Linked DNA regions of Homo sapiens: region 1 is linked to region 2. Evidence: promoter capture Hi-C in 16 types of primary human blood cells and fetal thymus (Javierre and others, 2016). All regions are on one chromosome and are shown on one strand. Each heading gives the region's core, a stretch centred on a gene start or on the middle of the fragment in contact. The rest is flanking DNA. Distances are from core to core; before and after follow the strand shown. Region 1 holds the start of KSR1 (kinase suppressor of ras 1). Region 2 holds the start of NOS2 (nitric oxide synthase 2).

The links. The method cuts DNA at HindIII sites, captures the fragments that hold promoters and counts their contacts. A CHiCAGO score of 5 or more calls a contact.
Region 1: the fragment with the promoter of KSR1 here is called in contact with the fragment with the promoter of NOS2 in region 2 in 1 of 17 cell types (monocytes); the score reaches 5.3 in monocytes.

The regions. Positions count from the first base shown.
Region 1 is chr17:27,453,873-27,461,286 of GRCh38, forward strand. It overlaps KSR1 (kinase suppressor of ras 1), which reads left to right and starts at 2,576. Exons shown (of 21, transcript NM_001394583.1): 1 at 2,576-3,002. The coding sequence starts at 2,772. RefSeq lists silencers at 2,106-2,865, 3,386-3,435 and enhancers at 2,241-2,742, 6,256-6,959. The HindIII fragment of the contact is 16,082 bases long and covers 1-7,414 here.
Region 2 is chr17:27,798,654-27,805,345 of GRCh38, forward strand. It overlaps NOS2 (nitric oxide synthase 2), which reads right to left and starts at 1,876. Exons shown (of 27, transcript NM_000625.4): 1 at 1,686-1,876; 2 at 47-229. The coding sequence starts at 156. RefSeq lists promoters at 1,709-6,692, 1,789-2,906, 1,789-2,081, 1,840-6,692, an enhancer at 2,050-2,078 and cis regulatory regions at 2,391-2,413, 4,440-4,575, 5,234-5,373. The HindIII fragment of the contact is 2,695 bases long and covers 1-2,502 here.

The sequences.
Region 1 (7,414 bases), core at 1,326-3,825, 340 kb before region 2:
AAGTGCATAAATAGGCACTTACCAGAACATTTCTTGTGAGCCAGGCATGGTAGTTCACGCCTATAATCCCAGCACTTCAGGAGGCTGAAGGGGAAGGATTGCTTGAGCCCGAGAGTTTGAGACCAGCAGCCTGGGCAACGTAGAGAGACTCCATTTCTAAAAAAAAGGAAAAAAAAAAAAAAGTTAACGTTAGCCGGGCATGGTGGCACACTCCTATAGTCCCAGCTACTTGGGAAGCTGGGGTGGGAGGATCGCCTGAGTCTGGGAGGTCGAGGCTGCACTGAGCCATGATCATGCTACTGTACTCCAGCCTGAGTGACAGAGCAAGACCCTGTTTCAAAAAAAAAAAAATCTTTTGTGAATTGTGTTAGAATGAGTGAGTCGTTCAAGCCTGGCAGCTCTGGCTGCTGGACAGAGGCTCTGAACCAGCCAGGTTGGGTTGTGGATAGTCCCTTGAGATAGTTCTCTGCCCACTGACCTTCCTCTGTGCCTAGGCTTCTCAAAGTATAGACTTGCGACTGGGCTCAGACTAACCACATCAGTACCACCTGAGAACCTGATAGAAATGCAGATTCTCCTGCCCTGTCCTCTGATCTACAAAATTAGAAACTATAGAGGTGAGCTCCATGGTTCTGGGAATTAACAAGCCCTCCAAGTGATTCTGATGCATGTTCAAGTTTGAGAACCACAACTAGTTTCCCTTTCATAATAGTTACTACTTTGCAAGGAGTCGGATGGGGTTAAGGTAACAGGTTGAGAAATTCATAATATCGTGCAGGCGGTCTTTTTATAAGTTGAGTGAGGACTGGATCAATGACTCTCAATGGGAAAGGCCAGGGGTTAGGGAGGAACCTCCTTGCATTTGGAAAATCTCGAGGAGGGGTTAATTTGCAAAAACAAGTTTTAAAGTTATAGTTTTGCTTCCTAGACCTGATTTTTAAAAATTTATTATTTTTTTTAGAGACAGGGTCTTGTCACATTGCCCAGGCTGGTCTCGAACTCCTGGCTTTAAGTGATCCTTCCCCCTTGGCCTCTCAAAAGTGCTGGCATTACAGGCATGAGCCACGGTGCCCAGCCCTTAATTTATTTCGAAGGCTGGTGTAATATAAACATTAAAGGAAGGTGTAATACAAACTGCCATCCATTATTGATTGTTTTAGTGTCTACAAGGTTTGGATCCCACCTCCTGTCCAATTCTCATCCTCAAACACAAAAACAAAACCAAAAAAACAACTGTCTATCTACACACACACACACACCCTCGGCTGGCCTGAGAGGTAAAAGAAACATCCCATAGGACCTGCTGAAAGAGCTCCTGAGGCACGCTGGAGCCTTTCTTGTGTGCCATGCACTGTATCTGGCACTATAAAGAGGGTACAATAGCTAGTGGCTTCTGCAATCAAGCAGCTTACAAGAGAAAATTGAGAGGGGAGACATTTTTTCTGGTTGACAGATGTCGAAAGCATGAAGGTGTGGGAGCTTTGATCAGAGACTTGGTTTTTCAGTTTTGCCAGATAATAGAACGCATGGGGTGAACTAATGGGAGAGGAGGGTGAACAGATGGGCAAGGCTTGATTGCTGGGTTAGGAGGCACAGAAATGCACAGAGGACAAAGGACTACCAGTCCTTGGCAGTACTGTACTGCTCCATGGCCACTACCTGGGTCCAGGGCCACATTCAGATCTGAGGTTAGATAGTAAGAATTGCTAACATTTATCCAGCGACCACATGTGCCAGTAATCAATCTAGGTGCTGTACATGTATTAACTGATTCTTCATAGGAACCCTATTAAAGAGTTATTTGATGAGGAGAGTCGGGCATTCACTGGAAATCGAACGTGCCCAAAGTCTCACCCTAGACCGTGGTGGAGTCAGAATTTGAATCCTGGCCACTTGCTCCGAAGCCACCGACAATTCAGTGTGCTGTCCCCCGTGTCTGGGCTGGCTTGGTGGGCTGGGAATGGCGGGGGAATGGGACACTTATTTTGGCAGGTAAATGTGGTTCAGAAGAAAGCTCTTCGTCTTTCTCCAAGCCTGAGCAATCGTTTTGGCGCAGGCAGTCCAGAGTAGAGCGCTTTGTGAGCCAGCTACAGAAGTGCTGTAAGCCCCTTCCCACTAGATGGCAGCCCCTAAACCCACATACAAATCCTGGAACCTCCCTGGTCCCCATCTTCCAGGGCTGGGCTGCAGCTGAGGAACTGCGGGACGCACACCCGCCGGGCGTCCAGGGGGCGCCGCCCCATCCGGGGGTCGCGGGAAGCTCCTAGGCCGGGTGGGGGACGGAGGCGGACGGGGAGACGCTGCTCCCCCGACTCTCGGCGCCTGGGGGAGGAGCTGGCGCGGAGCAGCTCCACCCGGGGCTCCCGGTTGGGGCCGGCCCTCACCGCCTGCCTCGCCGCGGCCGCCGGGAGGGGAGGGGAGAGGAGGGCAGGGAGGGCGGCGCGGGCGCGGTCCGGGGCCCCGAGGGCGGAGGCCGGCGGCAGGTGCGCGGCGTGGACTACAAGTCCCAGCATGCCCGGCCGCCCTGACCCAGCCCCCGCCGCCGCTTAAAGGCTCCGGGAGCCGCAGCCGTCGGGTCGCCGCGGCTTTCGCTTTGCTGCCGCGGCTGGGAGGGTGGAAGCGGCAGACTCAGCGGCCGGCTCTACCGGCGTCCCGGCTCGGGCAGCGCCGAGGGGCGCTCCTGGTCCAGCTCTCCTGGCTCGGGGGTTCCTTGCCGAGGCGCCCGCGCCCCGGGCTCCCAGCCTCGGCCGCCGCGGCCCCGATGCCGAGGCATGGATAGAGCAGCGCTGCGCGCGGCGGCGATGGGAGAGAAGAAGGAGGGCGGTGGCGGGGGGGATGCGGCGGCCGCGGAGGGAGGCGCAGGGGCCGCGGCCAGCCGGGCGCTGCAGCAGTGCGGGCAGCTCCAGAAGCTCATCGACATCTCCATCGGCAGCCTGCGCGGGCTGCGCACCAAGTGCGCTGTGTCCAACGACCTCACCCAGCAGGAGATACGGACCCTGGAGGTAAGTGGGTCGGGGACCAGGCTGGGCTCGAGGAGCGGGCCCGGACACCTCCCTCCGGGCCCCAGTACTCCTGGCCGAGTTGCATCCTTGAGCCCGCGTCGCCCCCCTTGGAGGCTTCCCCTCCCTCCTGCACTCGCTGATGCGGCAGCCGGAGGACCCGGGACCAGCCCTCATCTTGGGCAGGATTTGTGGGGCGGGTGCGTCGTGGGAACTGGGATGGAGGCTCGAGGGGCCCGTGCGGGGTGGGCTGCGCGCGGACATCCCCTTTCCCCCCTTCTCCGCCCCCACCCCATTTCCAGTTTGCGGGGCCGCAGGACTCGTTGTCCCACCGAGTCACAAGCTGGACTTTTCCCCGTGTGACTGAGCCGAGCACCCGTGGGCCAGGGTGACGGAGGAGGTTCCCCTGAAGCGTGATCGCAGGCCTGCCGTCCCCTGTTCCCCTCACGCCCCAGACGCCGTCCTGTCCCTTCCTTTCCTCTCCTCTCAGGTCTTGTCTGCCGCCTTTTCAAAAAGTGTTGCTGAAACTGCATTTTTGTTATTCAGGCGTTTGGTGCTTTCCTTTCACGTTGCCACGGAGGCTCGCTGCTTAAAATGTATTAATAATTACCCGCTGACTCCCCCTGCTTCCCCCCAAAGATTGGATTTAGGCTTAGGAAGGATTATGCTGGGAAGCAAGCCTTTGGTGGGAAGATGAAACTGTTTAAAGGGTTCTGATGGAGACAGTCTGGAGTGTAAAGAAGAAATAAGATATGCGGGCCTTCCTCTCTCAAATTATAGCTGGGGAAGTATCTGAAGGATTTGGAAAAACCAGCCCGAGGGTTGTTGGGGCACCCTGTCCATACACAAATGAGGGCAACTAGTGGATTCTGAATGTGATTTTGGCCAGGGACGGGGCGGTGAAACGTCAGACCAGTTAATAGCTGCCCCGTCTTGAAGAAGGAACCTCTCACCATCTTGCCCTGCCACATCTGGCCTCCTGCAGGTCTGGGGATGTTTTGTTTTATTAGATCCTCAATTTCTCCTCCCCCAAACCCTCCCCCCGCCCCTTATTGCTAATTGCCTCTGCCAGCTGTCATAAGGCCCTCTGTGATCGCGGTAATTATTACAAGACCAATCCTTCCTCCAGGCATGCCACAAAGCCGAATCCTTGTTTGATTCCAAATGCTCGGGGGTGACTCTCCCTCAGTTTTATTTTCTTAAAAGCTATAAAACCACAGGACATTGGAAGAATACAGTCAGTGCTGGGTATTATTATTTTTTATTACAGTTGGCTAAAGCTGTACTGACCAAGGCTTTGCTTAAAAAACAAACAAAACCCCCTACAACTGGCCTTTCTGCATGCATGCTGCAGTTTTCCAAGTATTGAGAGAAACTGATTTTTTGAACACAGCTGAGTGTGTTTGCTCAGCAAAGTTCAGTTTTTAAGCTGACAACAATAGGGGGCCTGTGAGGCTCAGTTCCGGGAGGAGGGGTCGCTGTCTGGCAGAGTGTGCGTGGTTGGACTTCGGTGTTGCTGGGCTTGGAGAATGCTCTCTGTGTTGGCCTCTGTGGGATTGTCCCCACGTTGCTCTGAAGTGCTCCTGGCTTCCAGAGTGTGTATATAGGAGAACCACTTGCTGTGCATTCTCTGGAATGGCCTTTTGTCCTACCCTAACTTCCGGAGTCCCTCATTTTGATGGCAGTGTGGCGTTCATGACACCCCAGAGCATCCAGCTATTTAAGTGTTGGAGCTGGTTTATTCAGTGGCTTCCCTCCTGAGTGTTTGTTTAGACGATCATCCCTGGCAGCAGAGAACCCATCCAAAGGCCCACAGGGGATCTGCAGCTCCCTGTTCTTCCCACCGTGATGTGGATTCGGGTTCACTCCACTTCCTGAAAAGGCAGGGCCTGGGTTGTTTTGGGGGATGGGAATTTAGACCCCTGGAGTGAGTTCCATGGGGCTGCCACCAGCTAGTTTAGATGAGTCACTTCATCCCGGAGGCCTCAGCCTCCTCACCTGCAAAACAAGGAGGCTGGAGTGGATCTCTGAGGGCTCTGGAAGCTCGAAATTCTCTAGGTTAGAGAAGGAGACTTGGTTGGGTGAAATCAAATGTTTGTGATTGTTTTTATACTACCCTGGTTTAAGAATAACCCTCTTTAAGAATGGTTCTAAAATCCAGATTTACTGAACCCATAACATAGGGGTTAAGTTTATTAGAAGAATCTTTGCCATAGGAGCAGCGTGGTGAATAGGAAGCCCCATGGCTTTCATACTGGGCCTGGGTTCTGTCTGTGTGACCTTAGGCAAGTCCCATGACTTCTGAATCTCAAGCTCTCCTGTCTGTAAAATAGGAACGAGACTGCTCACACCTGCAGCATTTTGTCTGTCAGTCCGTGCTGATACTACGAAAAGAGTCTGCCTGGCAGCTGCCCCTAGTGAGGGTCCAGTAGCATTTATGGCACAGGCCACCACTAGGGAAACTTAACCCCTACTGGACCCTTGCTAGGGAAACTTAACCCCCTACTTTATGGGTTCAGTAAATCTGGATTTTAGGGAAAGGTACTTCTGCAGCTGCCTCTCATTTCATACAGGTGGGTGACACAAGCCAGGAAACAATCTCAGCAAGCTGGGTGGGACCGTCCACCGCCAGCAGCATGTGTTGGGGCCAGGCAGGCAAGTGGCAGTGTCCACTCCAGCGTTCTTTCCTGTTCTGTGGGCTCCCCACACACCAGGCCGTGGCCCCAGAGACTGTGCTTGCAACACTGGATTCCTGGCTTTTGAAGAAGGATCTGACCTGGAGGGCTTGGCCTGTGCAACTGCATCGGACTTATCTAGAATCTGAGGAGCCCCAGCTCACTCTGGCCTTCATTAAATAAACACTCAGTGGGAGAAGCAGCACGTGAAATGTCCGTGGAGGTCCCTGACCAGGGATGGGCTGCTGCTGCCTGAAATTGGGTTGTGATGGGGTGTAGTGGGTCAGCGTGTCTGGTTGTCCGGGGATAGCTTTTCTCTGTGTGGTGGTCCAGTTTGGATGGAAAAGGGTAGAAGGAGCTGAGACTTAACGTTTGCTGCCTGTGTGCCTAGCAGCGTGCCTGACTCTTCTCAAACTCACACACGTTCCTGGAGATCAGCAGTTTTCATCATACACATTTTCCCTCTCTAAATATAAAGGGAGGGAGGCACAATTTGAAACCAGGGTATTAATCTGTAAACAGAAGTTGTGAGGCTACTTCATCCTGGCAGGAGCTGGTGTTCTGTCTCCGCTAGACCCTCCTAGGGGTCTGAAAACTCCACCGAGGCAAACGGGAATGTTCTTATGCCCCAGTGTACTCACAGAGGGACACTTGGCCTGCCTAATAGCTGGGCCTGCAACCTATGCCAGTAATAATTACCTTCATTCCTTTGAATCTGCCCAGCGCTGGGGAGACAAGGGTGTGTAGAAGCAGACACATGTTGCCTCATGGAGATTTATGTTCCAGGGACATTGTGACTTGCCCTTTCCTGCCAGCCTACTAGTACTTTCCAGAGACAGGCTCTGCCATGCTGAGTCTCCCCACCTTGTGTTCTTGTGGAGAAAAATCCCTCCTAAGCAAGCTGGCGTGGAGAAAGGGGCTGAAGGACTTTGACCATCAGGCTTTGCTGGGGGAGGTGATGTTGGCAACTGTGGTAGGTGCAGAGTCAGGCTGTGCTGGGAGGCGATGTTGGGAACTGTGGTAGGTACAGTCTCTGCCCTTGGGCTGCTTTCCTGAGCAGTTGCCCTGGAGCCGCAGGGGGTCAGAGGGGAGGCCCTCCTGCCATCTGGAAGGTCAGAGAGGCCTGGCCCTCACACAGCTCTGCCGTGGCAGAGGTCAGAGTCCCACCGTGTGGGGGACCTGAGCTCTCCCTATGCCTCCCAGGAGCATCTGATGATGGAACTGCTGGGAGAGGGGAGGGGTGGCATTCCTGCAGATTGGGTCCTTAGGGTGTGTTGAGGCACGTTCCCTGGACAGACCTTTAGTTACTGTTGATGTGCTTACCTGGCTGGCAGCCACCTAGCAAGGGCTCTGAAGTAGGTGGGCTGTTCTCCCAGTCTTTGGGGTCTAGGGACAGTTCTAGTCTAGTGAAGGAGCCAGGCAGGGCACAGTAATGACTTTAGTAGCACAGCTTGCAGGACCCTGCATTGGGAACCCCACTGAACCCTTGGCCCATCCAACCTCCTGGTTTTTTTGTTTTGTTTTGTTTTTTGTTTTTGTTTTTGTTTTTCTTTTAGTCAGAGTCCCACTCTGTCGCCCAGGCTGGAGTACAGTGGCATGATCTCGGATCACTGCAATCTCAGCCTCCCAGGTTCAAGCAATTCTCCTGCCTTAGCTTCTGAGTAGCTGGGATTACAGGCATGCCCCACTATGTCCAGCTAATTTTCGTGTTTTTAGTAGAGATAGGGTTTTGCCGTGTTG
Region 2 (6,692 bases), core at 626-3,125:
GGGTGCCCAAGGAGACAAGCAGGAGGTTCCCCCAGGGAAAACTCACCTGGAGGTGGCACAGGGGGCTTTCTCCACATTGTTGTTGATGTCTTTTTCCCCATTCATTGCATACTGGTGGAATTTGGTCTTGAACAGAAATTTCCAAGGACAGGCCATCTCTATGGCTTTACAAAGCAGGTCACTTATGTCACTTATCTGGATTTGAGCTCAGATGTTCTTCACTGTGGGGCTGAAGAAGGGAAGCAGAGGTGAGGGAAGGTTGAAGAAGAGTTTACAGAACAGGGCTTCTCAGTGGGGTTGGCTCACTGGGGAATCGATATGAACGCCAGCATGAGCCCCTTCATCAATGCTTTGCAACCTCTGTCTCTATTTCGGGGTTGGAATGGGGAGCCTTCGGACACAGACTTCAATTCTGTAAAGCCACCTAATAATCTTAAGGAAAAACAATGAACCCCCCCATCCCCATCGCCACTTAACAAGGACAAACTGTATGCACCATGAGCCTCCTTAGCGGGACCTGCTGGCCCACCAGACCCAGCCAGGCTTCATCACTGGCCACAGGCAGGGTGAGGAAGAGCCCGGAGGTCGTTGAAACAGGGGTGCCTTTGCCTGACCCTGAAAGACACTTCCCAGCAGCTCTCATTATCAACTGTAGTTTTAGGTCTATTACTGGGGAAAGCACTCAAGCTGTAGCTACCTTTCTTTTAAAGATTTTGCAGTTGTTGTTCTAACTCAGCATTATTACTTGCTCCTCTTTTATTATGTGGGGAGGAAATATTTGTGAAAAATGCACTCATCCCTCGAAATCTGAGATCATCTCCTTTGAAACAGACAAGAGGAAGATCAAAGAGGCAAAAACTCTGTCTTTAGAAGACAGTGTAGTGAATATAGTCCATGTAAGAATTTTAGGCCAAGTGCAGTGGCTCACGCCTGTAATCCCAGCATTTCGGGAGACCGAGGCAGGAGGATCGCTTGAGTCCAAGAGTTCGAGTTCAGCCTGGGCAACATAGGGAGACCTTGACTACAAAAAATTGAAAAATTAGCCAGGCAGGCATGGTGTCTTGTGCCTGTAGTCCCAGCTACTCGGGAGGCTGAGGCAGAAGGATTGCTTGAGGCTGGGCAGTCAAGGCTGTTTCCAAAAAAAAAAAAGAAAGAAAGGGAAGGGAAGGGAGGGGAAGGGAGGAAAGGACAGGAAGGAAAGGAAGGAAAGAGGGAAAGAAAGAAAAGAACTTATAGCCCCATAGACCTGGGTTCAAATCCTGGAATCCTAGCTCTACCAGTTATGTGTCCTGGATCAAGTTATTTAACTGAAACTCATTTATTCATCCATAAAATGGGTTTAATATATCCATCTTACCAGGATTTGTGGGGAGGTTACATGTTATAAGGACTGATAAGATAATCTCTGTTAAAAAAAATTCTTAGCAGATACAAACTCCCATTTTGAACTTTTCAGAAAGTTTTTCCTTGTCATGTAACAACCACAGCTAATATTTGCAGAAAAGAAATCTGACCAAGATGCCATGTTCAAATGACCAAACCTCATGTCGGCATTTTTTTACCTAGACTTTCCAACACCTTCTCTCTGTAGGCAGAAAATTCCCACAATTTTCTGAGCCTTCTCAAAGAGGAAGAAACAAAACCCTCTCAAAACAGCCGCTTCCCCAGAAATGAAGGCAACTCACCTTGCAGCTGGCTGCACTGCCTCCCCGGGGTAAGGACAGTCAAACCAGGAAGAGACCTGTGCCTTGAGAACTTCGGGACTGTCTAGAACTGCCCAGTCCCCTCATCAAAGGTGGCCGAGAGATTTTAAAGCAGGAATGAGGCTGAGTTCTCTGCGGCCGGAGCCTCAGTTTTCGACTCGCTACAAAGTTATGAACACACTGGCAGCCAAGAAGTATTTATACTCACCCCATGCCATCCAGAGAGTTGTTTTTGCATAAAGGTCTCTTTTTTTTTTTTTTTTTTTTGGTTTCCAAAGGGAGTGTCCCCAGCTTGTGTACAGTTAGCTAATTTATGACTGTGACTGCCAGGGCCTGTGGGTGACCTGATCTTGCTGTTACATCACTCTGTGTGGTGCCTCTTCACCCAACCCACCTCTTTCTGGTCCCAAGTCCAAGGTGGCAGTTCATCAGCAGGGTGGCTGCTAAGATAGAGGCACCACGGAGCCAGGTTTTATTTGGCCAAGCCACATGGCCTCACTTTCAGCATCTGGGAGATTTTTTCCTCAGCAGGGAGCTCTCTGGTTAATCCCTGTCCATCCTCTCACTTTTCCAGCTTGTGACAGGAGTCCAGGAAGCTGGGGGAATATTGACAGTATGGAACACACTGGAAAATGCCCAGGTTCCAGAAGGCCAGTGATATTAGATGATGCCATTATTCCAGACAGGCCTCTGAACTAGTCACTTGAGGTTTTTGGAAGGGAAAGGAAGGAAGGCTATTGGCACAGAGAGGCCTCTGAGATGTTGGTCTTACTAACACCTCATCCTTTAGCACTAGGTAAGCTTTGGTGGAATGGCAGGTAGGATTAAATTCCTTCCCTTATAATGGAAATGATCACTTCTTACATGAAAAAGTGGTAATTTCTTATAATTTCATTTCATTTATTTTATTTATTTATTTATTTTTGAGATGGAGTCTCATTCTGTCACCAAGACTGGAGCGGAGTGGCACGATCTCTGCTCATTGCAACTTCTGCCTCCCAGGCTCAAGCGATCCTCCCACCTCAGCCTCCTGAGTAGCTGGGACTACAGGCATGCACCACCACACCCAGCTAATATTTTTGTGTTTTTGGTAGAGACTGGGTTTCACCATGTTGTCCATGCTGGTCTCGAACTCTGAAGCTCAAGTGATCTGCCCACTTCAGCCTCTCAAAGTGCTAGGATTACAAGGGTTAGCCACCATGCCCGGCCTATAATTTCATTCCTTATAATGCCTGAAATACAGTATTCCCATACATATGCATTTTTCCATCATAAAAGTAAAATAACAACTACATTAGGGAGAAGTTGAGAAGCAAAGGGAAAAAAAGTCACCCTTGATCTCACCGTCCCAACACTTTGCTACCACTGTCCACTCATTTCCTTCTTGTCTTTCCCAAGTTAAATTCAGCATAATATATTAACTTTGTCAAAGATAAACTAAGAGCCACAAAAAAGACATGGATATCAGAGCTCAAGGATCTTTGTTGAGTGAATGTGTGGATGAATGAATGAAAAATAGGAGTAAACTGGAATGAGTTTTAACATATCAAAGCCATCTTCCCTTCAGGCTTCAGCTCAATGCTGCGGCTCAATGCTGCGGCTTAGAGCTCTGGCTTATGGAGCATCTGCCACGAAGAGCAATGCATTTTAGAAAGTGACAAGATGGCCGGGCGTGGTGGTTCATGCCGGTTCAGTTCAGGTAAACAGCACTCAGGGAAAGAGTCAGAATCCTGGCCTTAGGGAGTGCAAGGCCTAGAAAAATAAATGGATAATTATAGTACAGAGTGATATCTGTAGTGATGGAGGGATGGTATGGTGCTGATGTAGCTGGTTCTGCCTTGTTCAAGGAAAGTTTACAAGGGAGAGGACACCAGGGCAGGGTTTTGAGGGATGATTAGGAGTTTGCTACACTCTATTCCCTGTAGCTGCTTTCACATATTCTGGCTATACCTGCAGCAAACACATGTATTAACACATTTAATGCCCCCACCCAAGAGCCTCTGAGGGGGATACTACTATTTGCTATTCATGGAATCCTCAAGAATCCCATCTACTTGGCCTCAAAGCACTTCGTTGATTTTCCTTCAGAAAATGCAGTTATTCAGTTATGTGATCTGTCAAACATGTCACCTCAGGTGCCCCTCTAACACAGCGTCTGCTTGGTGTGGCATTCTTGACCTGTGGCAGGGTTTGAGTCCAAGCACCAGGCTTGAGGACACATTTGGAATTAGCCAGCTGGGAAGGAAATATAATTTCTCCTCAATCATCTTAAGTTATTTGTTGGGAAAGACACTGTAACAAAAGACAGATTAATAATAGAGAAAAAAAAGCAAGTTTGTTAATGTCTGTGATGCACACCACGCAGGAGAAGCCTCAGTGAAAGTAACTCAATGCTGCGGCTTAGAACTCTGGCTTATGGAGCATCTGCCATGAAGAGCAATGCATTTTAGAAAGTGACAAGATGGCTGGGCACGGTGGTTCATGCCTGGAATCCCAGCAATTTGGGAGGCTGAGGTGGGCAGATTGCTTGAGGCCAGGAGTTCGAGACCAGCCTGGGCAACATAGTGAGATCCAATCTCTACAGAAAAATTGAAAATAAATTAGCTGGGTATGGTGGCATGCCCAGCTACTGTAGTCCTAGCTACTCAGGAGGATCAGGTGGGAGGATCAATTGAGTCTGGGAGTTAGAGGCTGCAGAGAGCTATGGTCGCGCCACTGCACCCTAGCCTGTCTCAGAAAAAAAAGGAAAAAAAAGAGGGAAAGGAGGAAAGGAAAGGAAAGGAAAGGAAAGGAAAGGAAAGGAAAGGAAAGGAAAGGAAAGGAAAGGAAAAGAAAGGAAAGGAAAGAGAGAAAGAAAGAAAGAAGAGAAAGGTGACAAGACGAATGCAGTTGTAGGCTTCCAGGGGTGGCAAGCTGTGAGAAGGTAAACATGTGGAAGTGAGCTAAGGAGTAGGATAGCAAGGTTTGTTTGTATTTGTAGATGGCTCTGGTGCCATCTCTGAGCTGATAAAAGTTATCTTCTCATCTTGATGCTGGGAAAGCATCTTTCTCCAAGGAATGTTTATGGCTTGCTGCAGGCAGGACAGGGCAGTTCAGATAGCCCTCTCTCTAGCTGCTCTTTCTCAAATGCCTTCAGCTGGAGATAATCAGGATGCCATATCGGCATATCTGGGCGTGGCATGTTCTGGTTTCCTTTAGCCTGAAAGGTCCCAGGTTCGAGGCACAGCTTCACTGCTGACCTACCATGTGATCTTGGAAAAGCCACTTCTCTCTGGGCCTGACTTTTCTCGTGACAAAAGGTGATAAAAATAAAAGTAAATAAACGAGATACAAGAAAATGCTTTGAGCCATTGAGCAAAAAGTCAGCCAAGTAAGAATTTATTATCCTTGCTGGGAGTCAGAGAGTAACAATTTCCCTTTTGACAAAGAGCAAGTGGATGCCAGGACTTGCCTTCTGAAGTATCCTTCCTCAGACAGGTCCCCGTCCCACCACAAACACCTGCTTTTAAATTCCCGGTCCTCTCTCTCCCTTTGTAACATTAAATTCATGTATGTATTTTTAATTTTTAATTGGAATAAATTTCACATAACATAAAATTACCAATTAACTATTTTAAAGTGTAAAATGCAATGGTTTTTAGAATATTCACAATGTTGTATAACCATGACCACTATCCCAATCCTCTCTTAACCGGCAAATAGGAAGAGGAGGAGAGTAAAAATAGTGATAATGATTGTGATGATACACAGAGGTTAGGAGACTCACCAAGGTCACACAGCAAACAGCCTTCAAGCCGGGACAAACAGTGAGCTTCTGGTACCCTCCCCAGAGCGCCTGTCTGCAGGGTCCAGGGCTGGCCCCCTCCTGGAGGTTGGCAAGTCTCCTACGGCTTCCTGGGCCTGCACGGCTGCCTTCTTCTTGGCCCTGCCCACCCAGCAGGCCGCATTCCTGGCCTCTTCTGATGATGGATGCAGCAGGTGAATTCTGCTGGGGAGAAATCAAAGAGCACCTTGAAGGGCAGGCGGGGGACAGGTGGGCCCCCCGGAGGGTGGCGATAGAGGTTCCGAGGCTGCTGTGGAGAAATGCCCTCCTCCCTGCCTTCCCAGGCTGTCCTAGGCACCATGCTGACAGCAATCAGCACGGGAATGTCTTGGGCTCATTATCCTGGAATTGATTTTCCACTGGATTGATTTGATCTGTTTCTATGCCAGGCTGTGAAGATGGTTCAGATCCAGTTAGCCCTCGGAAGTTAGCAACTTTGAAGGCTTTTCTACAAAAACAATTGATCAGAGCTAACGTTTACTGAGCAAGGCACTTAAACATACCAAGCATTTAATCCACACAACAGTCCTATGGGGTGGGAATGATCACTAGCCCCATTTTATAGATGGGGAAATTGAGGCTAAGCAAAGCCAAATGACTTGTCCAAGACCACACAGTCAGGTGGTGGCAGGGCTACAACCCTGGAGTCCCAGCTTGCACTTGCTCTGGTGCTTGCTCCATAAATACAGCCAGGCCCTGGGCTTTCCATTTATTATCTCAGTTAATCCTCCAACAACGTTGTGTGGCAGGTACTATTATAATACTATCCCCAATTCACCAATAAGGAAACCGAGACACAGAAAGTTTGAGCGACCAGCTCAATGTCACTCAGTTTGTAAGTGGCAAAGCTGAGGACTGACCCAGGTCTGAGACCTTGACTGGACCCCACTTGTGCGCCCACTGTGTGCTTACCCATTTTGCTACAGGTGAGTACACCCAGGGGCAAGGAGAGGTGACAATGAGAGAGTGGGAAACTGAGATCAAGGTAGGAGCTGAGGATTACCTGGGGTTGAATGTTCTCCCCTCCATGTCAGTGTCTGGTGCCAGCTCTGTGCAAGGCCATGGAAGGAGGAGACGGAGTTCCTACTGTGTGCCCCGCCTCACAGAAAGTGATAAAAATTTTATTTTAGAAATATATTTAAGGTTTAAAGAGAGCCAGTTTAAGG